6 separate regions of the Homo sapiens genome follow, and regions 1, 2, 4, 5 and 6 are each linked to region 3. The links are contacts of gene promoters, found by promoter capture Hi-C in blood cells and fetal thymus (Javierre and others, 2016). All regions are on one chromosome and are shown on one strand. The core of a region is centred on a gene start or on the middle of the fragment in contact, and the rest is flanking DNA. Distances in the headings are between cores, read along the strand shown. Region 1 overlaps SLC30A2 (solute carrier family 30 member 2). Region 2 has its middle 11 kb from the start of PDIK1L. Region 3 holds the start of LIN28A (lin-28 RNA binding posttranscriptional regulator A). Region 4 holds the start of ZDHHC18 (zDHHC palmitoyltransferase 18). Region 5 overlaps TRIM63 (tripartite motif containing 63). Region 6 has its middle 8.5 kb from the start of TRIM63.

Evidence for each region. Contacts are between HindIII fragments. The CHiCAGO score rates a contact against its expected background, and 5 or more counts as called.
Region 1: a contact is called between a fragment that was not itself captured here and the fragment with the promoter of LIN28A in region 3, in 2 of 17 cell types (M2 macrophages and M0 macrophages). The highest score is 5.8, in M2 macrophages.
Region 2: a fragment that was not itself captured here is called in contact with the fragment with the promoter of LIN28A in region 3 in 6 of 17 cell types (M2 macrophages, M1 macrophages, M0 macrophages and 3 more); the score reaches 11.7 in M2 macrophages.
Region 4: the fragment with the promoter of ZDHHC18 here is called in contact with the fragment with the promoter of LIN28A in region 3 in 1 of 17 cell types (fetal thymus); the score reaches 6.4 in fetal thymus.
Region 5: a contact is called between a fragment that was not itself captured here and the fragment with the promoter of LIN28A in region 3, in 4 of 17 cell types (M2 macrophages, M0 macrophages, M1 macrophages and 1 more). The highest score is 11.4, in M2 macrophages.
Region 6: a contact is called between a fragment that was not itself captured here and the fragment with the promoter of LIN28A in region 3, in 1 of 17 cell types (M2 macrophages). The highest score is 6.3, in M2 macrophages.

The regions. Positions count from the first base shown.
Region 1 is chr1:26,035,852-26,040,503 of GRCh38, forward strand. SLC30A2 (solute carrier family 30 member 2) reads right to left here. Exons shown (of 8, transcript NM_001004434.3): 7 at 3,926-4,060; 8 at 1,401-3,454. The coding sequence ends at 3,309. EXTL1 (exostosin like glycosyltransferase 1) reads left to right here. Exons shown (of 11, transcript NM_004455.3): 11 at 1-613. Among named protein-coding and RNA genes, the nearest start is that of SLC30A2, 7.9 kb to the right of the region's middle. RefSeq lists enhancers at 1-82, 363-462. The HindIII fragment of the contact is 8,648 bases long and covers 1-4,652 here.
Region 2 is chr1:26,098,728-26,103,447 of GRCh38, forward strand. No RefSeq gene overlaps it. Among named protein-coding and RNA genes, the nearest start is that of PDIK1L, 11 kb to the right of the region's middle. The HindIII fragment of the contact is 1,917 bases long and covers 1,521-3,437 here.
Region 3 is chr1:26,408,536-26,412,870 of GRCh38, forward strand. LIN28A (lin-28 RNA binding posttranscriptional regulator A) reads left to right here and starts at 2,282. Exons shown (of 4, transcript NM_024674.6): 1 at 2,282-2,387; 2 at 2,851-3,047. The coding sequence starts at 2,357. RefSeq lists enhancers at 431-990, 991-1,548. The HindIII fragment of the contact is 9,111 bases long and covers 1-4,335 here.
Region 4 is chr1:26,823,709-26,828,214 of GRCh38, forward strand. It overlaps ZDHHC18 (zDHHC palmitoyltransferase 18), which reads left to right and starts at 2,980. Exons shown (of 8, transcript NM_032283.3): 1 at 2,980-3,431. The coding sequence starts at 3,097. RefSeq lists silencers at 2,762-2,914, 2,878-3,027, 3,038-3,247. The HindIII fragment of the contact is 7,154 bases long and covers 1-4,506 here.
Region 5 is chr1:26,056,008-26,060,883 of GRCh38, forward strand. It overlaps TRIM63 (tripartite motif containing 63), which reads right to left. Exons shown (of 9, transcript NM_032588.4): 4 at 4,259-4,354; 5 at 2,383-2,616; 6 at 1,621-1,643; 7 at 1,196-1,320. Among named protein-coding and RNA genes, the nearest start is that of TRIM63, 9.2 kb to the right of the region's middle. The HindIII fragment of the contact is 630 bases long and covers 1,868-2,497 here.
Region 6 is chr1:26,073,922-26,078,384 of GRCh38, forward strand. No RefSeq gene overlaps it. Among named protein-coding and RNA genes, the nearest start is that of TRIM63, 8.5 kb to the left of the region's middle. The HindIII fragment of the contact is 3,860 bases long and covers 478-4,337 here.

The DNA.
Region 1 (4,652 bases), core at 755-3,254, 370 kb before region 3:
TGCCTGGCCCTATGAGGGCGGCGGCGGGACAGGGTGAGCGGAGAGACAGAACTGTCCCCGCCCCACCCCGCCACCCATTCCTAGGGTTCCTAGTCCCGGGAAGGCAACTACCCAAAGACGCCTGGGTTGTCAGGCTCAATCCTTGAGCCTCAACCAAGGAGCAGAGGGGTGCGGGTAAACGAGGAGTGGGGCGAGGAAAGCGGGATGGGAACAAGTGGCCTGTCCCCGCACGGCCCGCGGCTCAGCCTCGGCCGTCTGCCCTGCACTACCAAGGCCGACCACTAGAGGTCAGCGTCGCGCCGCACTCTTCACCCGCATGTCCAGAGGGCGGCCGGGATGTGGAGGGTGAGCGCTGTGGGCAGCTCGGGGGCTGAAAGCTGGGAAGAGAAATCTGAAGAACAGCCCCATCTCTTTCGCCTGCACACTTGGAACTCAGCAAGAAGGGACTGTTTCTAGGTGGGCTGGGCGCGAGCAGGGACTGTCCCGAGCGGTATAGGTGAGAATGGAGTTGGGGGGGGACACTAGGTCCTCCGGGGTTCACCCACCTGGAGCTGGAATTATCACTTCCGAAATAAAGCGCGTGTCCTTGCCCCCTCACGCTCCAGGCTATAAATACCCTTACAGCAGCTGCTCGAGGGAGGGGCTCAGGGCTCAGGGCTCGCCTGGGAGCGCGTGCGACTCCAGAGGGTGAGGGTGGTGGGTCCAGCCCAGGTCCAGGGTGTCAGGTGTTTTCCTGCTTTGATGGCCTGGCAGCTCTGGAAACTCCCGTGACTGTCTCACTGGCAGGAACATACTGTCCCCTTAGGCCTCTCCAAGGCCTTCCACCCCCACCCCCCAGCTTGACCTCGGCGGGCCCCTGGATGACTCAGGTCCTCCCTAGAGCCAGTCACAGCTGAGTGGCAGAGTGGGTTACCCTTGGGAGGCGTGGTGCTGTGAGATGCTTGAGGTACAGGGCGGACTGGAAATTAAAGAGGTGGGGGAGAGGCAGTCCGGCCCGGAGTCAAGAACTGAGGGTGGGTGGGAAAGCATACAGCTGGGGCCCAGGCAGCCTTCCCAGGGTGGGGAGGGCGCTGGATGCCAGGCCCAGCCAGGTGAAAGAGGCACCTTTCCAATCACAGCTGTGACACCCAGGACACTGAACTGCCTTGGCATGTCCTCACCCATGGGCCGGGCACTGCTGGTCCCAGGGGTTTGTATTGTACCAACAGGCAGCGCAGACCGACAGGCCCCCAGACCCTGCTGTAGAGGAAGGTCTACCGAAATGAGGCAGAAATCCCAGACCTGCCTGCACTGGCTGTCTGACTTCAGGAAAACGATTCAACCTCTGAGCCTGTTTTTTCATCTGTAAGAATGCAGGACAGCAGTGATGGTCTCCTTTTTTTTTTTTTTTTTTTTTTTTTAAGCTGGAGTCTCGCTCTGTCACCCAGGCTGGAGTGCAGTGGTGTGATCTCAGCTCACTGCAACCTCTGCCTCCCCGGTTCAAGCGATTCTCCTGCCTCAGCCTCCCGAGTAGCTGGGATTACAGGCACAAGCCACCACGCCTGGCTAGTTTTTGTATTTTTAGTAGAAATGAGGTTTCGCCATATTGGCCAGGCTGGTCTCGAACTCCTGGCCTCAAGTCATCTGCCTGCCTCAGCCTCCCAAGGTGCTGGGATTGCAGGCATGAGCCACCGTGCCCAGCCAATGACTGTCTCTTGAGAGGGGTGTAAGGACTTGGCATACGGCAAAGCCCAGGATCAAGTTCCTGGGGCCTGCCATGGCTTGGGTGGGGGTGGGGAGTTGGGTAGGGGAGGTTGAGTCCCCTGAGATTGTGGTGGAATGGAGCACCCACCAGCAACCCCCCACCCCTCTCCAGGCCAGTGCTTTCCACAGACTTTTCACAGACCTGGAGGGGCTGAAGGACCCACCTACCTAGAACACAGGCGATCAGGATGACAGTGCTGGGAAGGCACAAAGAGGTCATTTCACAGATGGAAAGACAGAGATTTAAAGTGGGAGGCAAGTGACCAAACCCACCTCCTCCCACCTTGGGCCAGAACAGTCAAGACAAACTCAGCACTGCCCCTGGGGAGGCTGGGAAGCCCACCTGACTCCTCAGTGAGGCAGCCTCGGGCCACAGAGTTCCCTGTCCCCAGGATGGTAAAAGTAACCAATCTTCAACAACCACAGGTACTTGGCCAACTGGCTCTTGTTCTCAACCCTGTGAGGGAGGCATCAACCCTGTCGGTGTACAGATGAGACTGTGGGGCAGAGGCCAGCTCGCCCAAGGCACTTGCTTACAATGGCAGAGACAGACCTTGTGACACAGGACTCCCTGATAACTGGGCATGTTGTCTCGATGAGTCGGGGACAGGTTTCCCCTCTTGCATCTTGTAAACAAAAGCCACCCCTAAGTCAGGAATCTTCACACACAAGCCCCAGGAAGCTGCGGTTTCCCTCCTAGCTGGCCTCTGGACCGAGTGCAGCCCCACTTGTCTCCCTTTCCCTCCACCATGTCAGGCTCCGACTGGGTCAGGCCAGGTAGGCAACAGAGTTGGCCCAGCCATATCTTTCTGGAGACTCTGAATCCCCTGGGACACTCTCAGGGCAACAGAAGTGCCAGGGGGCTTGGAGGCTGTTAGTGCAGAACCCAAGCTGAAATCTCTCTACCCCCTGCCCACCACCTGTGCCAAAGTTGTTTTTTGTGTTGGCACAGCTGAGGAAATAAGGAAAGAGGAAACCTGTCTCTTACCTAGTAAGAAGCCTCTCCCCTCCAGGAAAGGGAACATTTGGCTCATAGCTGAAGTGACTAAGGCACAGATAGGCCTCAGGTGCCTCCTGGCTCCCTGCCTCAGGGAGGCTCAAATGAGAGTGTGAGGGTCCTCACCCCCGTGCCTATTGCTATAGGCAGATGGAGGGGCTCAGATTCATAAAGGCAAAGGCCAGCCAGGCTGAGAATGGGGCATGAGGCAGGCAGTATGGGCGCGCTGGGGCCAGCCTCCCCTTGGACGTCCCGTGGCTCACCACCTTTGCCCCTGCGAGTGGTAGAACATTTGCTGAGGATTAGGCCCAAATACAGCCCTTCCAGAGCTGGCCCAGGAGCTGGAAGAGCAGGGTCACACTAGCTTTATACCCGCTGAGTCCCCACCCTGGCTGTAGTCAGATGGGAGGCTGGGAAGAGCTCCATTCCTGGAGTGGGGCAGAGGTCAGGAGGGGGACCTGGTTTACAACACAGCTGGGGTAGGCAAAGTCCTGGCTGGGCCTGGGGGACACTCAGTCCAGCCACCTGCAGGTCCTGTTCATGCCCCAGTTGGTGCCTGGCTGAGCAGTCAGTCTGAGGGGCCCTGGCATGCCTGACAGTCCTTCATGTCCTCCGAGTAGTCCTCGATCTGGATGGTCACGGTGTGGAAGTGGAACTTCCCTTGGAGGCGGCTGCTGGCTGTCTTCAGCACAGCCTGGGCGTCTGTATTCTGAGCTGGGGGCCGAGAGGACACAGCGGGGGAAGCCATTTACTCTGGCCCTTTGGAACCATCAGGAGCCCAAATCTCATACCCCATCCCCAGCAGAACAGGATGGGGGACCATGAACATGGAGAAGCCCCCAGATTCCATTCCTCTGCCAGGTAGCCTCCCAGCCCAGACCTGGCTCATGCCTGAAAGAGCTGGTAAAGCACTGGCCTTAAGGCCAGGAATCTGCCACCTACTGCCATATACTAGCTGTAAAAGCCTGGGCAAGTAACTTTACCACCCAACCCCAGCCTCAGTTTCTTCATGGATAAATGAGATTGTGCTGATCAGATGGAATAATGCGTATCAAGTACTCAGCATGAGGCTGGGCTTGATGCATGGGCACTGTGAGCATCTGGGGTCACCTGGACCCGTTGGGGATGGCACTAGGCCTTTGGCTGCCTGTCTCCCACCCCACCCTGAGTGTCCCAAGCACTCACCAATGGCGATGTGGACAGACAGAACAGGCTGGGCCACCGTCAGTGCCCAGATATGCAGGCTGTGCAGGGCTTCTACCCCCTCCACCGACAGCAGCAGATCACGAACAGCTGTGAAGTCAACGCCCTTGGGGGTCCCTGAGGACGGCAAGGACAGGGGAAACTAAAGGAAACTACCCCTCCCACGCCTGCCCATTGGTGCAGGGCTGGCTCCTGATCCTCAGGTGTCATCCCCTCAAAGAAGACCTCTTTGGCCTGCAGGTCTGAGGCTGCCTTCACCTCCCAAGGTCTCTGCCCTATCACTCTGTTGTATTTCCTCTCCACTCTTAACACTGAAATTATTTATGAATGTACTTATTGTCAGTTTCTCCCTCTAAAATGGACACTCCATGAGGGCAGGACAGTCTCCTTTGATTACCACAGTATCCTTGGTGCCTAAAACAGCACCTACTCCATAGTAGGTGCTCAATAAATATATTTTTTGGTTTTTTTTGAGACGGAATCTTGCTCTGTCACCCAGGCTGGAGTGCAGTGGCGTGATCTTGGCTCACTGCAACCTCTGCCTCCCTGGTTCAAGCAATTATCCTGCCTCAGCCTCCTGAGTAGCTGGGACTACAGGCGCATGCCACCACGCCCGGCTAATTTTTGTATTTTTGGTAGAGACAGGGTTTCACTGTGTTAGCCAGGCTGGTCTTGAACTCCTGACCTCAGGTAATCTGCCTGCCTCGGC
Region 2 (4,720 bases), core at 1,229-3,728, 310 kb before region 3:
AACATAGCAAGACTATGTCTCCACATAAGTAAATAAACAAATAATTAGCTGGGTATGGTTGCATGCACCTGTGGTCTCAGCTACTTGGGAAGCTGAGATGGGAGGATCGCTTGAGCCCAGGAAGTCAAGGCTGCAGTGGACTGCGATCGTGTCACTGTACTACAGCCTGGGCAAAGAGCAAGACCCTACCTCAAAAAAAAATAAAAATAAAATAAATAAAATCTTTACTTAAAACTCTTTGGTGATTGACAGGTTGACAGATGAACAAAATATAGTATATACACAAAACGGAATATTGTTCAGCCTTAAAGAGGAATGAAATTCTGACACATGCTACAACATGGGTGAAACTTGGAGACCTTACACTAAGTGAAATAAGCCAGACACAAAAAAATAAATACTGAATTATTCTATTCATATGAGGTACCTAGAATAGTCAAATTATAGAGACAGAAAGTAGAGGCTGGGTGCGGTGGCTCATGTCTGTAATCCCAGCACTATGGGAGGCCGAGGCTAGCAGATCTACCTGAGGTCAGGAGTTCGAGACCAGCCTGGCCAACATGGTGAAACCCCATCTCTACAAAAAATACAAAAAATTAGCCAGGTGTGGTGGCAGGCACATATAATCCCAGCTACTTGGGAGGCTGAGGCAGGAGAGTCGCTTGAACCTGGGAGGTGGAGGTTGCAGTGAGCTGAGATTGCGCCATTGCACTCCAGCCTGGGAGAAAAGAGTGAAACTCTGTCTTAAAAAAAAAAAAGTAAAATAGTGGTTATCCAGTTACCAGGGGCTGGGAAGAGAAGGAATGGAGAGTTATTGTTTAATGGATACAGAGTTGCAGTTTGGGATGATAAAAAAACCCCGAATGTCCGGGCTGGATGGTTCACACCTGTAATCCCAGCATTCTGGGAGGCTGAGGCAGGTGGATCACTTGAGGTCAGGAGTTCGAGACCAGCCTGGCCAACATGGTGAGACCTTGTCTCTACTAAAAATACAAAAATTAGCCAGACATGGTGGCACATGCCTATAGTCCCAGCTACTTGGGAGGCTGAGGCGGGAAGATTGTGTGAACCGGCAGGTGGGGGTTGCAGTGAGCTGAGATCACACCATTGCCCTCCAGCCTGGGAGACAGAACAAGACTTCATCTCAAACAATAATAATAAAAATAAAAGTTCTGGATGGTGGTGATGGTTGCACAACAATATAAATGTACTTAATGCCGTTGAACTATACAGTTAAAATGATTAAATCAGCAAATTTTATGTTACCTCTATTTTACCACAATTAAAAAAAAAATAGACCCTTGCTGACCTGTTGCTTTTATGCCCAAATCCATAACATGATCTACAAGACCCTACAGGATATCACCCCTGCTTGTGTAGGGGTTTTAAGGCTAAACCTTACAACTTATTCCCCCTCCAGTTGGGATCTGGACCTATTAGGAAATCCCAATGGCAATCAAGGCAATGGAGAGATAAAAATATGGGCCTTATTACTGATAAAGTTGGGCTTTGGAAGCAAAAGCTTGTATTTATACCCACAATGGAGCTTCCTAGTATCTTCCTCTCCCCATCGTTTCCCCCCAGCTCTTGATTTAAACTTCCAGCTGAGGCCTGCATAGAGCAGCTGGTACCGGCCGTCCTGAATGCCAAGCATGCTCCTCCCTCCGCTTCTCACTTAGCTCATTTCTGCCCCTCGGTCATTTCTTAGCATAAGTGTCACATGTGGCTGGGTGCATTGCCTCACGCCTGTAATCTCAGCACTTTGGGAGGCTGAGGCGGGCAGATCACTTGAGGCCAGGAGTTCGAGGCCAGGAGTTCAAGACCAGCCTGGCCAACATGGCGAAACCCCGTCTCTACTAAAAATACAAAAAATTAGCCAGGAGTGGTGGTGTGTGCCTGTAGTCCCAAGCTGTCTGTGAGGCTGAGGCAGGAGAATCACTTGACCCGGGAGGCAGAGGTTACAGTGAGCTGGGATCGCACTATTGCACTCCAGCCTGAGGAACGGAGTGGGACTGTCTCCAAAAAAAAAAAAGAAAAAAAAAAAAGGCCTCTGTCATATGCTCAGAGGCTTTCCGTGGCCCATACTACCTCCCTCCTCCCTGCCTCCTAATAAGTCTCATGCGCCCTAGAGCTTCTCCTGCATAGCGCTTTCCAGAACTGTATTTATGTGTCTCTTTCCATGATCATTGTGGGTGTAAATAAGAAGGCAAGTTTCATGAGAACAGGCACTGCGCTATGGTCTCCATGTGTCCCCCTAAAATTCATGTTAAAACTGAATTGCTAGTGTGATAAGAGGTAGGACCTTTAGTATGTGATTAAGTCATGAGGGTGGAGCCATCATGGGTAGGATTAGTGACCTTATAAAAAGCGTGCAAGGGGCCGGGCACGGTGGCTCATGCCTGTAATCCCAGCACTTTGTGAGGCCAAGGCAGGCAGATCACGAGGTCAATAGATTGAGACCATCCTGGCCAACATGGTGAAACTCCGTCTCTACTAAAAAAAAAAAAAAAAAAAAAAAATTAGCCAGGTGTGGTGGCACGTGCATGTAGTCCCAGCTACTCAGGAGGCAGAGGCAGGAGAATCACTTGAACCTGGGAGGCGGAGGTTGCAGTGAGCCGAGATTGTGCCACTGCACTCTAGCTTGGCAACAGAGCACGAATCCGTCTCAAAAAAAAAAAAAAAAAAAGATAAAAGGGGTGCAAGGGAGCTATTCATCCCTTTTTGCCCTTCCACTTCTGCCTTGTGAGGATGCAGCACCAAGCCACCATCTTGGAAGCAGAGACAGCAGCTCTCACCAGAGATGGAATCTACTGGCACCTTGATCTTGGTCTTCCCAGCTTCTAGGACTGGGGGAAGTAAATTTCTGTTGTTTATAAATTACCCAGTCTAAGGTATTTTGTTATAGCAGCATGAACAGACGAAGACACATTGTGTATGCCGTATGTTTCCTTCATGGCCACATCCCCAGTGCCTAGCACGGTGCCTGGCACTTTGGCTCCCATACACATTGCAGAATATTCCATTCACTAGCACTCCTCTCCAGGAGAGTTCTGTATACTGTTGGAAGACAAATGTGGATAAGGCTTGGGGCTGGGAGGTCAGGGGCCAGCCTAAGTAATATTCGCAGCTACATGAATTAGCGGGCCTTGTGGAGTCTACAGGTTTGTCCAGGGTCCAGGAGGTCAGGACCATCGAGAGGCTAAGTGTGGTTATCTGTGCCTCCTTCCCAGCCCCTGCTCTAAATAACCATAGAGCAAATATTTGAAGAATGTCAGCTTAAAGGAGTGTCTCACTCTGACCCTCAAATTTCTATTTATTTTTTAAATTGACAAAAATTGTATTTATTTACTCATATGTACAACATGATGCTTTGAAATATGAATACATTGTGGAATGGCTAAATTTAAGGCCCAGTGTAAATGCTACCTCCTCTCTAAAGCTTTCCTGCCCGCCATTCCCCTCCACAGAAGCACAGTTTGGATTTCCTCCCCTGGGCTATGTAACCTCAGCTGGCACTGGTTGAATTGTACTGTCTGCATATTTATATGTCTGTCTCCCCTCCCAGAGAAAGTCCATGAGGGCAGGGACCTTATCTTTCTGTTCACTGCTTTTTCTCAGCATCAAGCACAATTTCTTGCACGTGGTGGATATTCACCAAATAGCTGTTGACTTAACGAACAAAGTGCCACCATGTGCCAGGCACTAGTTGACTTCTGAAGAGAGGGGTATATGTCAAGACATTTGTTAGCCACCCACCAGCCTCTGAATTTAAGCCTGCCAGTAAGCCCCATCCTTCAGGACACAGAGCTTGGTCAAGGAGGGGCCCACAACCCTATCTCTTACCCCCTACTCCCTAGCCCCTAGCCAATCAGGTCCAACAAGACTTAATTTCAGGAATGTTGTTTGAGGAATAGAGAAGTTGACTTTCTCATTCCTGCAGGATATGATCTCATAAGGCTGAATTCCCACTGGTGACCCCGAGGCCCACAAGGGAAGCCAGCCTTAAGATGAAGGCAGCATCATGGGAGGCAGAACAGAGGAAACTAGAGTCTTTGGTGACATGTGAGCTGCTGAATCAAACTTCCTTCCCGAAGCTAGCCCTCCCACCTCCATTTCTCTTAGGTAAATGTACCAATCATTCCTTTCAGTCACTTTGAGTTGAGTTTCTGCTCTTGCAACATGAAGCATCCAGAAGAGGCCAGAGAATCAGAGGAAGCCGAAGCTTTAACACTTCAGGACCTGCTGAGGAGTCGGGTGAATCCTCAGTTTGGGACACTCCCAACACCCCCATCCAGCATGGTTTTCAGATGGTGGCATCCCCAGCAGCTCTTGGACCCAGGGGCAGGAGATGTGAACCTGGGTCTTAACCATCAGCTGCTCCAGCTGTTCTCAGTCCTCACCAAGAAGACAACTAGGACCCATCCAAAGACAAAAACAGCTAATGTTATACCTGGTGCAAGACCTTTGTGGGCCCCCAGATCACTTGTCTCAGGGGCTGGATCAGAAATAAACATTTTGATCTTCTTATTACAAGCATAGTGGAGGTGTAGGATTCAAGAATCAGAGTGTTGGAGCTATAAGGATCCTTAGAGATGAGCTGGTCAGACCCCCTCATTTTGCAGATGGGGAGACTGAGGCCCACAGCAGGGGGGAGTCTTTCTTGCTCAAGATGACACAGCGTGTTAGTGCCAAAGCTAATACCCTTCCTAAAGGAGTTTCT
Region 3 (4,335 bases), core at 1,032-3,531:
TCCCCCAAAAAAAGTGTCTTCATTCATCTGAAATGTGTCAGTGTTACCACAGCGGGAACCGGCATTGAGGAAAATCAGGTTTTCTGGGAAAGACTTGGAGGTGGGAACTCAAGAAGTTATTCTCAAAACTGTGAGCTGGGAATCAAGACAGCGTGACTCAATTCAGCACCGTGGACAGAGCTGCTGGAGCCCTCAGGACCCTGGACAGAGAAGCAGGCCGCGCATTCCCGGGGAACCGAATTCGCATCACTTGAGAACCCACCTAGAGAAGCCAGAGCGTTCAACTCCCCTTTCCCTCCCTTTTCTTCAGCCAGACCTCAGCCACTTGCTCCTGAGTCTTAGGAACAGAGGTACACGGAGCGAATATATTTTAAGGGCGCCACTAACAGCGGGAGATAAGACTTTTGGGAGAGGAGAATTATGTAAATAAAAATGGCTTTGGCTGATGTACTAGGAGAACTCTTGATAATTCTAAATTAGAGTCCTCAGATGGGAGTGGGGCACTGCTAATAATATTTGTTAACGATATGTATTTTTTAGGCGGAGCAGCAAAGGGCCACTCTTGTCCTTTTTACCCCACGAAGTCCCACCTCCCATTCCTTACGCTCAAGTTTTCATTTCTTGGAGAGCACCCCGTACGAGAGAAAGGGAAATAACTTCTGCAGTCTCTTGCTTTCCTCCCCATCTTCCCCTTCCCTACCCCCACTCATCCGGTCTCTCTGAAATACACATGTGCCCACATCCGCACGTGCACACACACACACACACAAACACACACACAGAGCCACAGCGTGAGAATTCCAAAAGGTTCTGCACACTCGGTGGAGAAGATTGAATTCAGAGCAAGCGGATGCCCCCGAAAGCAGGCTCTGTCCCTTTAAATGGGTTGTAGTGGTGGGGGAGGGGAACTGGCCGGAGCTGGCATTGTCCAGTTTGAACTGAACACCGGAAGTGAAGGGGCAGGGCCAGGGCCGTGCACTGAGCCCCGGGCCATTGTCCATCTCCGACCAGGGCAGTAGCCACCCCCACTAGCCAGCCGTCTTTATCTCCTAGAAGGGGAGGTTACCTCTTCAAATGAGGAGGCCCCCCAGTCCTGTTCCTCCACCAGCCCCACTACGGAATGGGAGCGCATTTTAGGGTGGTTACTCTGAAACAAGGAGGGCCTAGGAATCTAAGAGTGTGAAGAGTAGAGAGGAAGTACCTCTACCCACCAGCCCACCCAGTCCCTCTCTCAGCAGTGGATGGGGATGGGGTGGGGGTAGGACGAGAAGGCAGCTGGTGGAGAAACAGCTTCAAGACTCTTTGGGTTCCTCCTGCTCTCCAGGGAGCTTACCTGGGGCTAACTTTAGACACACAGGTTTGGAGGGAGGAAAGAAGGAAGAATTCTTTACAACGAATCAATTAAGAGCACTTTCTCTTTTCTAACTGGGGGAGGCCCAGAAAAACTCTGAGTCAGAAACTCTGGGAGGCAGACATTCAGATGTAGTCAGAGGCAGACAGACTTTGGAAGGCAGCGCTTTGGTCAGGACAGATCAGCCCTGTGTGTCCCCAGCCTCTCCCCTGCTCCCCCATCCCGGGCTTCCCAGTGTCCAGAACTCCAGGTCTATCTAAGCACACGGGGGTGGGGGGTGAGAGCGGGTCAGCTCCAAGCAGCCGGGTCAGCTCAGAGGCCTGAGGGGGAAGAGAGGGGGAGGGGAGCTCAAGGGCTGGGGGAGGGGGAGGGCCCATTCATTTCTCCCTTGACAGGTGGTTTGTGTTTCTGATTGGCCAGCGCCGCCAGGCTCACACCTCCCTCCCCCAACTCTCTGGAATGTATAATTATCTGCCCGGGGGGTGGGGGTGGTGTGTGTGTGTGTGTGTGTGTGTGTGTGTGTGTGTGTGCAGTCACGTGGTTTTAAAACTACCCCCCCCACCAGGTCCCCCACCTGTATCTGCTTTGGGGACCCCTACTGAGTCCAAAGTGCAGGATCTCAAATTCCGGGGTACTCAAGTCTTCTAGGGCAGACAGACCCATCTCCAGTTGTGCGTGTGGGGAGGGGGTGTCAAACCTCAAGGTTCTGAGAAGGGACACCCCAGAGGTGTCAGAGACCGGAGTTGTGGGGGAGGGCCGGAGCTGGAGCCGGAGGGAAAGGGAGGGGAAAGGAGAGGGAGGGGAGGGGAGGGGGCTGCCCGCGGGGGGTTGGGTCATTGTCTTTTAGAATTTGGGAGCCTTTGAAAAGCCGTGGGCCCTCCCACCGCTATTGTGCGGGGGAAGATGTAGCAGCTTCTTCTCCGAACCAACCCTTTGCCTTCGGACTTCTCCGGGGCCAGCAGCCGCCCGACCAGGGGCCCGGGGCCACGGGCTCAGCCGACGACCATGGGCTCCGTGTCCAACCAGCAGTTTGCAGGTTCGAGCTCGGGACTTAGCGGGGACACTTTAGGATTCAGGGGCGGCCAGGAGCCACGTAGAAGGGAGGTGGGGAACTGAGTCCTAGGCTGCCCAAAGGACCCCAAGACGGTGCGGCCTTCTGCTTCATAGGGCCGTCTCTGGGGCCAGGAACCTTGGTGTCCCAGTGGCGTGCGCGCCAGACTACGTGGGTGGATGGAGAGGAGAGGCTTGTCCCGCCGTGAGTCTCTGGGAAACGCGTTGTGGGAAGAGGAGCAAAACTTTCGGGGCACTACTGTCCCGGTGTACGCTAGGGGAACGCGGGAGGCGACCGGGATAGGTTTCTTCTCTTCTGTTGCTTGGTAGCTGCCCCCTCCTGGCTGTCCACTTGTGGGGCTGGATACTCGGGTCTCCCTGCCTGGGGCCCGAGACGGCCCTCCGATTCCGTGCCCCCCAGCTAAGTGCCCGGCCCTCCCTCTCTCCAGGTGGCTGCGCCAAGGCGGCAGAAGAGGCGCCCGAGGAGGCGCCGGAGGACGCGGCCCGGGCGGCGGACGAGCCTCAGCTGCTGCACGGTGCGGGCATCTGTAAGTGGTTCAACGTGCGCATGGGGTTCGGCTTCCTGTCCATGACCGCCCGCGCCGGGGTCGCGCTCGACCCCCCAGTGGATGTCTTTGTGCACCAGGTGAGACTGATTCCGGTAACTTTGCCCAGGGAAGGGCGTCTAGGCGCCCATATCCACGGGTGGGCTCCGGGCTCGCAGTTGAATTGAGGGCCATCGGGAGCCCTCATTATGCATCCCTGTCTTTGCTTCGGCACCCCAATTCTGAGTCCCTGTTAACTATCTCGTGGGGGAGTAGTGGGAGGCAGCACCAATTATCAGCACCCCCGCCCCCTTCCGGGAACCCCTCCGGCTTACCACGTGTCTATTACCTCTTTCCCCTGGGAAGGGGCAGGGGGCAGGGAGGTGACCCCATGTGGCAGAAACTAAGGTTGTATTGTGCTTGCCGGTGGGGGGAGGGCGAGCAGGCCGGCCAGGGAAGCACATGCCGGGCCTAAGCCGGGAGCCCAGCTCCTCCAACGTCTGAATGGAGCTCAGAAGGCGGGAGAGAGTGAGGGCAACTGGCTACTGGACCCAAGGGGCGTAAAGCCGAGAAGTCAGCCTCATCCCCTTTTTAATGCAGACCTCACCTGGCTGGTCACTAAAAACTGGGTTTGGCAGATCCCTGAAGGATCCCTGTGGGGGCTTGAAAGCTCAGGACTGGGGTCTTTGCTGTCCAGTTCCCGTGAGGAAGGAAAACCCAAAGAGCCCAGGCCTTCCTTACATTCCTGGGCCAGGCTGGGAGGGAAGTCGGTAGGTCGCAACCCCAAGTTCTCAGTTAAAGCAGGGCAGCACAGTAGGGGGTGAAATTCAGTGTCGCAGGGCAGGGGGTGAAGGGAGGCTGGCCTCTGGTCCTATTCTCCGCTTGGCATTTATGGCCCCAGACAGCCATTGATTGCTGTCTTAACATTCCTGGCCTCAAACAAGGAGCCAGAGACTTCAGGTCTCCCTCCTCCCAGGCTTCCCCTTCCTGAATATCCTAGAGGCATTCCGGTGGTCCTGGGCCACCAGCTACCCATAAAGACCATGGAAAGGAAGTTGCTTGCTGCCTATGGCCCTTCCATCTTTGGAGGTTTGGGACTGGATCTGGAAAGAAGAAATTGCTAATCCCAGATCGTGTAGGTTGACACCCAGGCCGGGCAGGGAGGGGTTACTTAAGGGAGGTTGGCTTTAGGAGGTGTGGGGGAGGGGAAAGGAGGATGTGGGGATTAAGGGTTGGAGCCTGAAGGGATGGCATTCTTTGGGGGAGGGGTAGAGAAGGGAGATGCTGGATGGACTAGTTGGAGGCAGCAGGGACGTCTTTGAGCACAGCCTTCAGTGAGGAACAAACAAGGGAAATAGACGCAGGGAGATGGGGAGCCACCACTTACTG
Region 4 (4,506 bases), core at 1,730-4,229, 420 kb after region 3:
CAGGTTCAAGCAATTCTCCTGCCTCAGCCTCCCGAGTAGCTGGGATTACAGGCGCATGCCACCATGCCCAGCTAATTTTTTGTATTTTTTTAGTAGAGATGAGGTTTCACCATGTTGGCCAGGCTGTTCTCGAACTTCTGACCTTGTGATCCACCCGCCTCGGCTTCCCAAAGTGCTGGGATGTGAGCCACCACGCCTGGCTTTTTTTTTTTTTTTTTTTTTTAGACAGGGTCTTGCTCTGTCACCAGGCTGGAGTGCAGTGGCGTAATCACAGCTCACTGCAGCCTTGACTTCCTGGACTCAGGCAAACCTCCCACCACAGCCTTCCAAGTAGCTGGAACTACAGGTGCATGCCACCATGTCCAGCTAATTTTTAATTATTTTTGTAGAGGTGGCATCTCGCAATGTTGCTGAGGCTGGTCTTGAACTCCTGGGTTCAAGCAATCCTCCCACCTTGGCCTCCCAAAATGCTGACATTATAGATGTGAGCACTGCGCCCAGCCTTGCTTTTTAATTGATGTAGAATTGAGCATGTGTTTGCGGTATTAATGAACAGGAAGAGAGATAGGACATGAGTTTGGAGTTCTATTGGGCTTAAATAAATAAATAAAATGGAGTTCCATCAGCCTTACTTAAAAAAAAAAAAAAAAGAGGCCAGGTGCAGTGGCTCACACCTGTAATCTCAACCCTTTGGGAGGCCGAGGCAGGCGGATCATCTGAGGTCAGGAGTTCGAGACCAACCTGGCCAACATGGTGAAACCCCGTCTCTATTAAAAATACAAAAATTAGCCGGGCATGATGGCACATGCCTGTAATCCCAGCTACTTGGGAGGCTGAGGCAGGAGAATCACTTGAACCCAGGAGGCAGAGGTTGCAGTGAGCCGAGGTCATGCCATTGCACTCCAGCCTGGGTGACAAGAGCGAAACTCCATCTCAAAAAAATAAAAAATAAAATAAAATAAGGATATGAGTGGAGGGTTGGCCATGGACAGAAGGAGGCCCACATCTTCTAAAAAAGAAGAAAGGACAGATGCAAATAAAGAGAAATTATGAGATAGAGAGGAGGTAAACTGAAAATCCAGTAGGATTGCTTTGGTTTCTGTAAAGTGACGAGAAAAAAGAAAAGGTTTCAGGTTGCAAGAGGACCCAGTTAAGGTGGGACAACAGGAATCTGTACTGGAACCAGTATGTCTAGTTTTGTGACTTTGTTCCACAGCCAAGGAGCAAAAAGGGAGGAAGCTCACCATGTGGTTTGCTCAAGATGGGGCTCATCATATTGAGAGCCTTTGGCACCAAAGGCACGGCTGAGCAGCCTTTGGCATATATATCAATTATTGATCCTTAAGGTCACTGTTGTCGGCTTCCTACTCCTCCCCATTGTATATTTTTACTTCCTTTTTTACTTTCTCCTAGTCTCCAGTTCTTTTTTTCCTTGCACTTTTCCTTAGGTTTTACAGTAACCACAGTGTGACAGACATACCCTAAGCTGACCCCCAATGATTCCTGCCTCCTGGTATTTACGCCTTGTGTGATTCCCTTTTCTTGAGTGCAGATGGCTCCTGTGCTTTGCTTTTAACCATAGGAGATGGCAATGATGATGGGATGCCACTCTGTCACATATATAGTAAGTTATATAAAACTCTATCATCATAGTCTGGAGCTAGAGACCCTCATTGTCAGTTTCAAGAAACTAAGTGGCTATGTAGGAGAAACCTGCATGGCAAGGAAATGTGATAATCTCTAGGAACTGCAGGTGGCTTTTGGATCCTGAGAGAGGCCTCCAGCAGACACCCAGCAAAAATCCCAGGCCCTCCTCAGTTATACAGTCACCCAGCAAAAATCCCAGGCCCTCTTCAGTTAAACAGTCGCAAGGAAGTTAATTCTGCCAATAACCCAAATGGGCTTGCAAGTGGATTCTTCCCTGGCTGAGTCTCCAGATGAGAATGCAGCCTGATTGCAGCCTTGTGAGACTAAGCAGAGGACCCAGCTAAGCTGTTCTCTGGCTCCTGACCTGGAACCTGTTAGATAACGTTTGTTTTTTGTTTTTTTTGAGACGGAGTCTTGCTCTGTCACCAGGCCGGGTGCAATGGCACAATCTCGGCTCACTGCAACCTCCACCTCCTGGGTTCAAGCAATTCTCCTGCCTCAGCCTCCCGAGTAGCTGGGACTATAGATGCCGTGCCACCATGCCCAGCTAATTTTTTATTTTTAGTAGAGACGGGGTTTCACCATATTGGCCAGGATGGTCTCTCTCGACCTTGTGATCCACCCACCTCGGCCTCCCAAAGTGCTGGGATTACAGGCGTGAGACACCGCGCCCGGCCGATAATGTTTGTTTTAAGCCTTAAATTTGTGGTAACTTGTTACACAGCAGTAGAAAATGAATACTCCCAGAATTCCTGAAAAAACACTGGGGCCCTCAGGCATGACCCCTCTACATTATGTGCTACCTAGGAAAATCTGGGCCTGGGCCCAGGACACAGAACTTGGTGAACGAGGCCAGAGGGTGTGCCACACACCTCCAGTGGGCACTCTGGACTTCAAGGTAGAAGAGGTCCTGGCTTTCAAAGCAAATCGTGTGCCCCACCTCCCCGCGCCTGCCTGCCTCTGCAAATGCCTGTCAGTTCGACCCTCAGAGATGGGCGAAGCCTGGGGAATTACAGACTGCCAGAAGTAGATCACGAAGTCCACCACCTGAATCTCGGCGTTTGGCACCGTGCCTGGTACACAGTGGACGCCCAACAAACGGCTTGCTTGCAGAACAGAAAGAGCCCTCGAGTGCGCGTCTGCTGGCCCCCTCTTTGTGCAGAAGGGAAAAGGGAGACTGGGAGGGCCGGGGACCTGCGGGGCCCCGCCGCGGGTCAGAGCTGGGCCTCCGGCCAAGCGCCATCCCGGGCCCAGGCGGAGGGGGCGCTGCGGCGGGAGGCCGCGGCGGGCGGTGGCGGCGGGCCGGGGGCGGAGCGATGGCGGGGCCGCCCCAGTGAGTGAGCGAGCGAGCGCCGCGCGCGCCGCCGCTGCCACCTCCGCTGCTCGGCCCGGTCCCGGAGTGGCCCGGCCGGCCCGCGGGGCGCGGAGCCGAGGCCCGCGGCTGGCTGCATGAAGGACTGCGAGTACCAGCAGATCAGCCCCGGGGCCGCCCCGCTGCCCGCCTCCCCGGGGGCGCGCCGTCCCGGCCCCGCCGCGTCCCCGACTCCGGGCCCCGGGCCCGCGCCGCCCGCCGCCCCCGCCCCGCCGCGCTGGAGCAGCAGCGGCAGCGGCAGCGGCAGCGGGAGCGGGAGCCTCGGCCGCCGCCCACGGCGCAAGTGGGAGGTGTTCCCGGGTCGCAATCGCTTCTACTGCGGCGGCCGCCTCATGCTGGCCGGCCACGGCGGCGTCTTCGCGCTCACGCTGCTGCTCATCCTCACCACCACCGGCCTCTTCTTCGTCTTTGAGTGAGTTCCGCTGCCTCGGCGCCCCCTCCCAGCCCCCTGCCGCGCACCCCACCTTCCCAATCCCTGCTGGGCACTCCGTGCCTTCCCCTTCGCCTCCCTGGTCCTCATCCTCCCCGCCCCTTTGGGATCCTCCTCGGGCCTCTTGTCTGCCCCCCTGGCCCCTGCGCACCCCCATCCCCGCCAGATGCCCCATCCTCCTTGGTCCATTTGGGTACCCCATCCGCGCTGGTGCCCTCCACCCTCCCAGCCCCTCCATTCTCCCTGACCCCACCCTGGCACCTGTCTGCCTGCCACTGCCAGGAACACCAGCCTCCATGCCCCTCCACGGCCCCCATCCTCGCTGCCCTCTCAGAACCTGCCCCAGGGCTTCTTGAACAGGCCCCTCCTGCTCACCCATCCCTGGACCATCTCTTGCCAACCCCCCAAGTTCTTTCTGACCCTTGTATCCCTTCCTGACCACTTCTAGATCTTGTGTGTCCTTTGGCTGTGCACACCCACCATAAACATCCTAGTCATCCTCGCTGCCCTCTCCGGGTCCCTCCAGGGTCCCCTCCTTTTCTCTAGTCTCAGACACCAACCCCGCTTTTGCTTCCCCTCAGCCACGCACACCCTAGGCCCCAAGGCATCTTTTCTCAAAATCTTTGGGCCTCTCGGGCCCCCTTTCCTTCTCCAGAACCTTCCTTAGGTTCTCCAGAGCTTCCTGTCCTTCCCTCAGATCCCGCCCGCCTCCACCCAGCCGGCTCCCAGGCCCCTGGCCCCCCTGCTGACCACCTGGCTTTCTTTCCCTGCTCAACATTCTGGAACGTCCCTCTGGCCTGTTCCACATCAGCAACAGCTGCGGTGCCTTGTTGTTTTTCAGGAAAGACTTCGGAGTGCTTTCGTGTGACAGGTCATATTTGCCCCCCTAGGTTTTTGTCCTCTTCATATCCCCCGGTGACCCAGGATTGGCCCACACATAATCTCCATTTTATGGATGGAGGGTCATATATTTGTATTAGAAGTTTTCCACCCACCTCTGAGCCACCTGCACTGTGATTCCTTGCACACACACTCACACGCCCACCCACCCACCCTT
Region 5 (4,876 bases), core at 933-3,432, 350 kb before region 3:
CCAAGAAGCTCTTCTCTTTCTCACGCCAGCCATTTACAGTTCTTCCTTGTTCCTTCATCATCCCCTTGTCCCCCAACCTCAGCTGGTCATTGGAGCACCACCTCTCAGACCAACGCAACAGTCAGCAATGTGGGATCTGCCCTCTCTTTCTCTGTTGCCTTTTAGCTGTGTTTCCCTTTTAGCTGTGTGACCTTTAGCAAATTAACATATTTGCTTCCATTCAGTTTCTTCATTTCCTTTGTTATTTTCACCCTTATTATTGTTACGGTTGCATTGTTACAATTATTATAGGCACTCTATGGAAGAGTAATTATAAACAGAAATGAGGACATGATGTTGATCAATTAAGGTGCCTGGGTATCATAGGTGATAGCATTAAGAAACTGAAGCTAAGACTACCTTTAGGCAATAACTAGTACATCTTTAGGGCTCTACAGGACCTTTCTGCATTGATATCTGATTTTTTGCAACAGCACCATGAGTTGGTCATTATTAGAGGGCTCACTTCTAACCTGACTTTTTAAATTAGAAAATAAAACTCAGGCAGAAGGGGGCTTGCCAAAGGTCACACAGATAAACAAATGACAGAACCAGGATTTAAACTCAGGACTGTCTGATTCCAGAGGGCATATTATTTCTACTGCCCCAAGAGGCCTCCCTGCCATGGATCCATATGTAATTTATGAAGCAGGAATTCTGCACCAGGCACTGTGCTAGGCTCTGGGCTCATCTAGAAATCGACTATATGAATTTTTTTTTTTTTTTTTTTGAGATGGAGTTTGGCTGGCTCTTTTGCCCAGGCTGGAGTGCAGTGGCACAATCTCGGCTCACTGCAACCTCTACCTCCTGGATTCAAGTGATTCTCCTGCCTCAGCTTCCCAAGTAGCTGGAATTACAGGCACATGCCATCACGCCTGGCTAATTTTTGTATTTTTAGTAGAGATGAGGTTTCACCACGTTGGTCAGGCTGGTCTCAAACTCCTGACCTCAAGTGATCCGCCCACCTTGGCCTCCCAAAGTGCTGGGATTACAGGCATGAGCCACCACAGCCGGCCAGAAGTTGGCTATATGAGTTTGATTGATATTTGGGGATCTTTATTAGTGTATCTGCCTCCCCATCGGGCTCAGTTGGAGGGATGCTGGTTTCCAGGGGTCAGGCAGGCAAATAGACAAGTGGCATCACCACCTCCTTTACCTGTCCCAAAGTCAATGGCTCTCAGGGCGTCTGCTATGTGCTCTAAATCCAAAGTAAAGAAGTCCATGTTCTCAAAGCCCTGCTCTGTCTTCCCCAGCTGGCAGCCCTTGGAAGCTTCCACAATGCTGCAGGGGAGACAGAAAGAGAGGCAGGATGAGGTCTCTGGGGCTCAGTGCAGGGAAGAGAGGGCACATGCTTTGCCACGCCCAGGCCTTCTACCCAGAGGCTCCCCTGGAGGGATGGAGTATTTCCTCTCCAACCTCAAGCACAAGGAGTGGTCCAAAAAGTCAGGGATGCAAAGGGTCAGGGAAGCCAGCCTAGAGTGAGACCCTCCCAGCAGGCCTAATGCCCAGGATGAGGCTTCCTGGACAGAGGTCCTGGTGGGAACTAGGTGCTTGGATCATAGCCTCTAGGAAGACACTGACCTTTTGATGAGTTGCTTGGCAGTCTGCAGGGGGAGAGAGAACAAAGGATTAGGACCGCAGAAGAGGTAACCGCAGGAAATCAGCAAAACTAGTGAACTAGGTGTTGTAGGTAGATATTTGGTGCCATTCCCTAGCCCAGTTGTGACCTGCTCCCCACCCCAAACTGAGCAGAATCTGGAACTTTTCCCTCTGTCTGTGGTCTGTACAGGTCTTGGTCATCACCCTAGGACCCACTGTCTTGACAGGAAGCTTGGATTCTAGGGGTATCAATCCCAAAACTCCTAAACCCTGAACTCCCCAATCCTAACCACCTTTTCATACCTAATGTCTAGCAAAAAGCCTGGCCCACAGTAGAAGCCTAGAACATTTTTATTGAACTGAACTATGAAGTCTTATAACTGAGCCTTTTCTGTCCTCCCCAACAAGCTCTTTGAGGGCAGGGCTGTGTCTGGTTTATCTCCTTGTCTTCCACCTCAGTGCCTGGCCTACAGTAGGGGCTCAATTAATAGTCTGTAGATGGGACACTGTATTTTGCAGCTTACAAAGTCATTTCATAAACATCCTCTTATCTTATCATCATAAAATCAGTAAGAGGAAGGTGGGGGGTGTTACATGCCCATTTGACAGATGAGGAAACTGAGGCTCACAGAGGTTTAAATGGCTTTTCCAAGGGCCCATGGGTGGTCAGTGGGGAAGCATAACTTGAACCTTAGAGCTGTAGAGTTGAACTGACCCCACCCAGACCCTTCTAGTCCTGCTCACCAAGAGGAAGGTGGCTCCCCCAGGCTCGTCCAGGGACTGGATGGCAGTTTCCACCAGCTTTGTGGACTTGTCCAGCTGCTCCTGGTACTGCTGGATGAGGGCCTCGATGAAGCTAAGCTTTTTCTCCTGCTCCTGCGTGATCCGCTGCAGCAACTCACTTTTCTTCTCATCCAGGATGGCATACAACGTGTCAAACTTCTGGCTCAGCTCTTCCTTTACCTGGTGACTGTTCTCCTGAGGACGGAAGTCTTGTGGTCACGTTCTGTAGGGTCTTTATTCCCTGCCCACTACACTGCCTTCCTAGGACAGTAGCAAGGAATCTAAAGCTAGAAGAGATCTCACTACATACATCCCCACACTACAGAAGAAGAAACAAAGACTTAACAAGAAGAAAACACTCATCTGGCCTCACAGCTATTTAGTACGCCAGTGATATTTGGAGGATGATGCCTTGAAAAACAGCTAGCCCCTTCTTCCAAAATAGAGGCTCTAGGGTCACATGACACAACATGTTCTTCCTTGTTCCTGCACCCTCCCCCTGTCCCCCAACCTCAGCTGGTCATTGGAGCATCACCTCTTAGACCAATGCAACAGTCACCCAATGTGGGATCTGCCCTGTCTTTCTCTGTTGCCCTTTTTTTTTTTTTTTTTTTGAGATGGAGTCTCGCTCTGTTGCCCCCGCTGGAGTGCAGTGGTGCGATCTTGGCTCACTGCAACCTCCACCTCCCAGGTTCAAGCGATTCTCCTGCCTCAGCCTCCCGAGTAGCTGGGATTATAGATACGCTACCACGCCTGGCTATTTTTTTGTATTTTTAGTAGAGATGGGGTTTCACCATGTTGGCCAGGATGGTCTCGATCTCCTGACCTCATGATCCACCCAGCTTGACCTCCCAAAGTGCTGGGATTATAGGCATGAGCCACTGTGCCCAGCTCTCTGTTGCCTTTTAGCTGTGTTTCCCTTTTAGCTGTGTGACCTTCAACAAATTAACGTTTCCTGGGCCTCCCATATGTCCCAGTTCACACTCTTCCCTCCCTTTCAGGACCAAGACTGGATTCGGGAAGCTCTGCATCATTTGGTCCTAGGAGAGGTGGAAAAACAGCTCCTTTCCTAGCACCCTCCTCAACCGAAGCTCCCTTCTCTCTATGTTCTTTTCTATAAAATGGGTGTGACAATAGCATCTCATCAGACCGGGAGCCTCTCGTGGGTGATCACAATGTTCCCCTCCTTCCTACCCTTCGCCCAACTCTTCATCCACTAGCAATTATGATGACCCCTTCCCCTCATCTCATCTCCAGATCCCTACCCCAAGTGAACATGGAAAATCGTGGAAGCTTTTTTCAGGGATAGAAAAGTTCCCTTCTGCCCTCAACAGTCTCACTACTCAACATGTGGTCTGTGGACCCAGCAGCTTGGGCAAATCCTGGGAACTGGCTAGAAATGCAGCTCTTATGCCTCATTCCAAACCAACTGAATCAAAACCTGAATTTCAACATGATCCCAGCGTAATTTTCACGCACTTCAAAGTTTGGGAAGTGTTGGTCTACAGCACACTGAAGAACTGTGCTCTGAAAACAATTTGTGCTGAATAAATACTGAGAATTATTGATGGGACACTCCCTGAGCTCAGGGACCACGTCTGTCTGGTTCACTCCTCCATCCCCCACATCTTGGGTGGGGCCGGACACACAGCTGTGCTTAAGAAGCATTTGTTGAGAGACTGGATGAATGGATTAGTCCCTCCCCTGCCATCCCTGCTTGACCGCCCCAGGCTCCGGGCCCCAACCTTTAGCCACAACCTATGGGTGAGCCTTCCCCAGAGACCAGGCTGCCCTGGAAAGCTCCAAATCCCCAGGCAGGACTATTCTGTCCGCTCACCTTGGTCACTCGACGGGAATCCTCCAGCTGAGTGATGATGGTCTGCACACGGTCATTCCCCGCCACCAGCATGGAGATACAGTTATTCAGTTCAGTCTAGATGGGGGTGTGGGGGTCAGGAGAGGAGAGACACAAATAGCCTCAGGGCCTACCCACTGGGGCATGGCAGCAACATGGCTTCCTCCCTCCCCTCTCTGCTAGAAAGAGCCTCCAGTAGGGATCTGGCCCCTCTTTCGGGTATAGCTCAGCTCCAGAGTAGAGGATATTAGAAAGATACTGCATCCCTTATTTTACAGGTGAGGCCAACAGCAGGCAAGTGAGCTGCCCAAAACACACAGCAAGGAACTGACAGAGGAGGGGCTTGTTTCTAAGAAAGAAGGGACAAAAAAAGAAATAGAGTTGGAGACGTCTAGAAGAGAGAGACCTAGAGAAGAGTGGGGAGTAGGGAAGAGAGAGTATGGAAAGGGGGTGGCTACGGCTTACTGCACGGACAGGGTGGTGGGCCCTCACAGGCCCAGGGACCCAGGGAGAAGGCTCTAAGCTGCCTCCTGCTGTGGGGGAATGTGAAGTCTTGGAGAAGAGGTGAGAGGCACAGGAAGAGGTGTCTGGGGGATGGAG
Region 6 (4,463 bases), core at 1,158-3,657, 330 kb before region 3:
GCACCCAGCCTCTTTTCTTTTCTTATTTTTTCTTTTCTTTTCTTTTCTCAGAAGGAGTCTCACTCTGTTGTCCAGGCTGGCTGAAGTGGTGCAATCTTGGCTCACTGCAACCTCCACCTCCTGGGTTCAAGCAATTCTCTGCCTCAGCCTCCGTGCCCAGCCTTTTCTAAAATATTTTAAAGAAAATGTTAGACATTAAGTCATTTCACCCATAAATACTCCAATATGCATTTCTCATAGATAAGGATTTTTGTTACATAATCACCATGCCATTATGTTAACAAACAATAATTAAAGTTTTTTTTTTTCTGAGACAGGGTCTCACTCCGTTACTCAGGCTGAGACCTCTGTTGTTTTTGTCTCATGGATCTCTTTTAAACTGTAACAACTGTCATCCCTCTCATTCTTCTGTGCCATTGATTTATCAGAGAATTATTCTGGGTATTATGATTCTCATTTTTATATATCAGGCACTGAAGCTTAAGTGACTTGTAGAAAGTCACCCAGCTAAGCAACAGACCTGTCATTTAGAATTGCTCCCAAAGTCTGTGTCATGAGTGTAGGAAGCTGTAGTGCCCAAGAGGGTCCCAGCTGGGTAGAAGACAGGCAAGGCATCAGGGAGAATGGTCTAGGCCTGGCAAGGAAAAAGGGGAGGTAGAGGGTAATAGCAATTATAATGCTGTGTTTTATTGATTTCAGTGCTTGCAAGTGGCTGGGCATCTACAAAGAGTTTTGAGGCACTATTTTATTCAGTCCTCACAACAACTATAAATAGGTTATCCTTAAATTTTTTTAATCGACAAGTAAAAATTGCATATATTTATGGTGTACCACATGATGTTTTGATATATGTATATATTGTGGAATGGCTAAATCAAGCTATTTAACATATGCATGACCTCACATACTTATTGTTTCATGGTGGGAACACTTAAAATCTACTCTCTTAGCAATTTTCAAGTATACATGTCATACTTATTGTCCTCATTTCACAGATGAGGCACAGTTTAGGGTATGGAGTTGCCCCAAGACCCACAGCTCATGTAGGCAAAGCTGCAACAGGCCTGTTTAACCCTCAAAGTCTATGCTTTTTCTTTTTCTTTTTTTAGACAGAGTCTTGCTGTCTGTCACTCAGGCTGGAGTGCAGTGGCGCTATCTCAGCTCACTGCACCCTCCACCTCCTGGGTTCAAGCGATTCTCATGCCTCAGCCTCCCGAGTAGATGAGATTACAGGTGCCCACCACCACGCCTGGCTAATTTGTTGTATTTTTAGTAGAGATGGGTTTTCACCATGTTGGCCAGTCTCTAAATCCTGACCTCAGGTGATCTGCCTGCCCCAGCCTCCCAAAGTGCTGGGATTACAGGCATGAGCCATCGTTACCAGCCTATGTTTTTGTTTTTTTTTTAATTGTCTCTAGAAAGGGAACTTTTCAGAGATCTGAGATTTTTTTGATGCCTCTTGGTTCAGAGGAGAAAACCCTGGCCTAGGGCCCAGACACCTGGGTTCCATCTCCATCTCTGTTGGAGACCTGAAATGTGATGCCCTGCAAACCATACCCACCCTCAGTTTCTTCATCTGCCAAATGGAGCATCTACAGGAGATGATCCTGAATGGTCCTTCCACATCCCCAGTGGCCAAGTTCTCAGAGGAGTGCTCCGGTGATGACACAGGCCCAAGGGGTGGTGATGCTGGAGAGGAAACAACTGTCCATCTCCCCTTTCATGTCCACATAGTTCAGGCTTGTGGAAGTGCTTCCCTGGTACATCATGGAGCAGATCTTTTTCACATGTGTGTACCTGTTCTCCCTCATTTCCTCCCTAGGAGTGTGAGGTCTGCCCTGCCTTGCTCTGCATTTCCCCTCAAGCCTCTGCTTGGAGCACCCTCAGGAAGTGGAACAGGCGTGGCACAGGGACTGTTTTTTTCTTATGGTTTAAGATCCGTATCACATGCTTTGATGTCATCCTCATTGAAGAATCATCCCAAATCACAGGATCAAACCAATGGGTCATTTGATCTAGTGGCTAAAGCTGGAGCAGTTGGCAGAGGCAGGTCTATGGGGTCTGGGACATGAAGCAGTGCCCTCAGTGCCAGGGCAAAGTCCACTGGGCCTGGCCTGCATGCCACAGAAGGGGAGCAGAATGTCCCAGGACCTACTCACTCATGGCCTGGGCTGGGAGCCACACAGGCCTCCTCCCACTGTCCCCAGGACCAGATAATGCTTGTGGACAGCTACAAAGGCTCTGGGGAGTGGGTGGTCTTTAGAGAAAGGGACTGCCCCAGGGCAAATGGAGGCAAGTAGGGTCAGGAGGGGGCTCTGCACTGATGATCCTGAAATGAAGTATTGAAAGTGCTTTATAAACTGTGCAACATATAAACTGTGAAATGCAATAAATCCTTACTATAAGAACCTAAGAGTGCAGAGCAACAAAGAGGCTGCCCCAGGACGGATGGATCTGAGTTCAAGTTTTGACTTCTTCACATATCAGCTCTTTTATCTTGGGCAGGTTACGTGACCTGTGTGTGTGAGTTTCCTCATCTATGAAATGACAATTGGGTAGAGTAATGATGTCTGTGGGCATTTCTAATCCTGAGAGTCAAGGGTTCCTAGTGACTATCCTCCCCCAGCATTCTATGCCTTGCTGAAAACTGATGGCACAGAAGTGGGAGTCCATTTGCACAGGCACGTAGCACACGTTTGACACATGGCAGACACTTAACAAACGCTGTTAACATTATCACAGTTGGGAATAACACGGGTTAGCATTTACTGAACAGTTAGTATGGGTAACCCCATGGCTTGCGTACCATCTGTTGTTGCATAACAAATTATCCCAAAATGTAGCAGCTTAAGACAATAGTAAACATTTATTATCTCATACAGTTTCTATGGGTCAGGAATTCAAGAGCAGCTAAGCTGGGTGGTTCTGGATCTGGTCTCTAAGGAGGTTGTAGTCAAGATGTTGGCTGGGGCTGGGCGCGGTGGCTCACGCCTGTAATCCCAACAGTTTGGGAGGCTGAGGCAGGAGGATTGCTTGATCCAAGAGTTTGGGACCTGCGTGGGCAACACAAGGAGACCTTGTCTCTACAAAAAAAAAAAAAAATTACCTGGGCATGGTTTTGCGTGCCTGTAGTCCTAGCTACTCAAGAGGCTAAGGTAGGAGGATTGCTTGAGCCCAGGAGGTCAAAACTGCAGCAAGCTGTGATAGTGCCACTCCAGCCTGGGCAACACAGTGAGACTCTGTCTCAAAAAAAAAAAAAAAAAAAAAAAAAAAAAAAAAAATATATATATATATATATATATATATATATATATAGGCTGGGGCTGCAGTTGAGTTTAGCAGAATGCTTGACTGGAGCTGGAGGATCCACTACCAAGATGGCACACTCATGGTTGGCAAATTGGTGGGAGGCCTCAGTTCCTCAGTACACATACCTCTCCATAGGGCTGCTTGAGCATCCTTATAACATGGCACTGGCTTCCCCCAGGGCAAGTGATCCAAAAGAGCAAGACAAAAGTGGTACTATCTTTTATGACCTAGCCCCAGAAGTCACACACTATCATTTCCATTGTATTCTACTGGACACACAGACCAACCCTGATACAGTACGGGAGGCAACTGCACAGGACCTGATTACCAGGAGGCAAGAATTATTGAGCTGTATCTTGGAGGCTATCACAGTCTGTTCTAAGTGTTTTATAGGTATTAATTCATGTGTTAATTCATGACATTGATACCACTACCATCCCCATTTTACAGATGAGAAAACTGAGTCACACAGAGATTAGGTGACTTGCTTAAGGTTACACTTCTAGGAAATGGACTGGGGTGTTGTGATGGACTGAATACTTGTGTTCCCCCAAAATTCACATGTGGAAGCCCTAACCCCAAATGTGAAGGTATTTGAAGATGGGGCCTTTAGGAGGTAATTAGGGTTAGATGAGTTCATGAAAGTAGGTCCAGTGGGATTAGTGCCCTTATAAGAAGAGACATAAGGCTGGGCAGCTGAGCAGATGGGCAGATGGGCACGGTGGCTCACACCTGTAATTCCAGCACTTTGGGAGGTCAAGGTGGAAGGATCACTTGAGCCCAGGAGTTCAAGACCAGCCTGGGCAATAGAACAGACCTTGTCTCTACCAAAAAAAAAAAAAAAAAAAAAATTAGCTGGGTGTAATGCCACACACCTGTAGTCCCAGCTACTTGGGAGGCTGAGGCGGGAGAATTTCTTGAGCCCAGGAGCTGAAGGCTGCTGCAGTGAGCTATGATCACACCACTGCTCTCCAGCCTGGGCCACGGAGAGAGACCCATCTTTAAAAAAAAGAAAAGAGACACAAGAAAGCTTGCTCTCCTTTCTTCTCTCTCTGTTTCTGTGGCTGTCTCTATGTCTCTCTGAAACTGCCTTTGCAAAAATTATAACTGAGGAAACTATGACAGTGAAAGATTTCAGATCTAACCAACTCCGT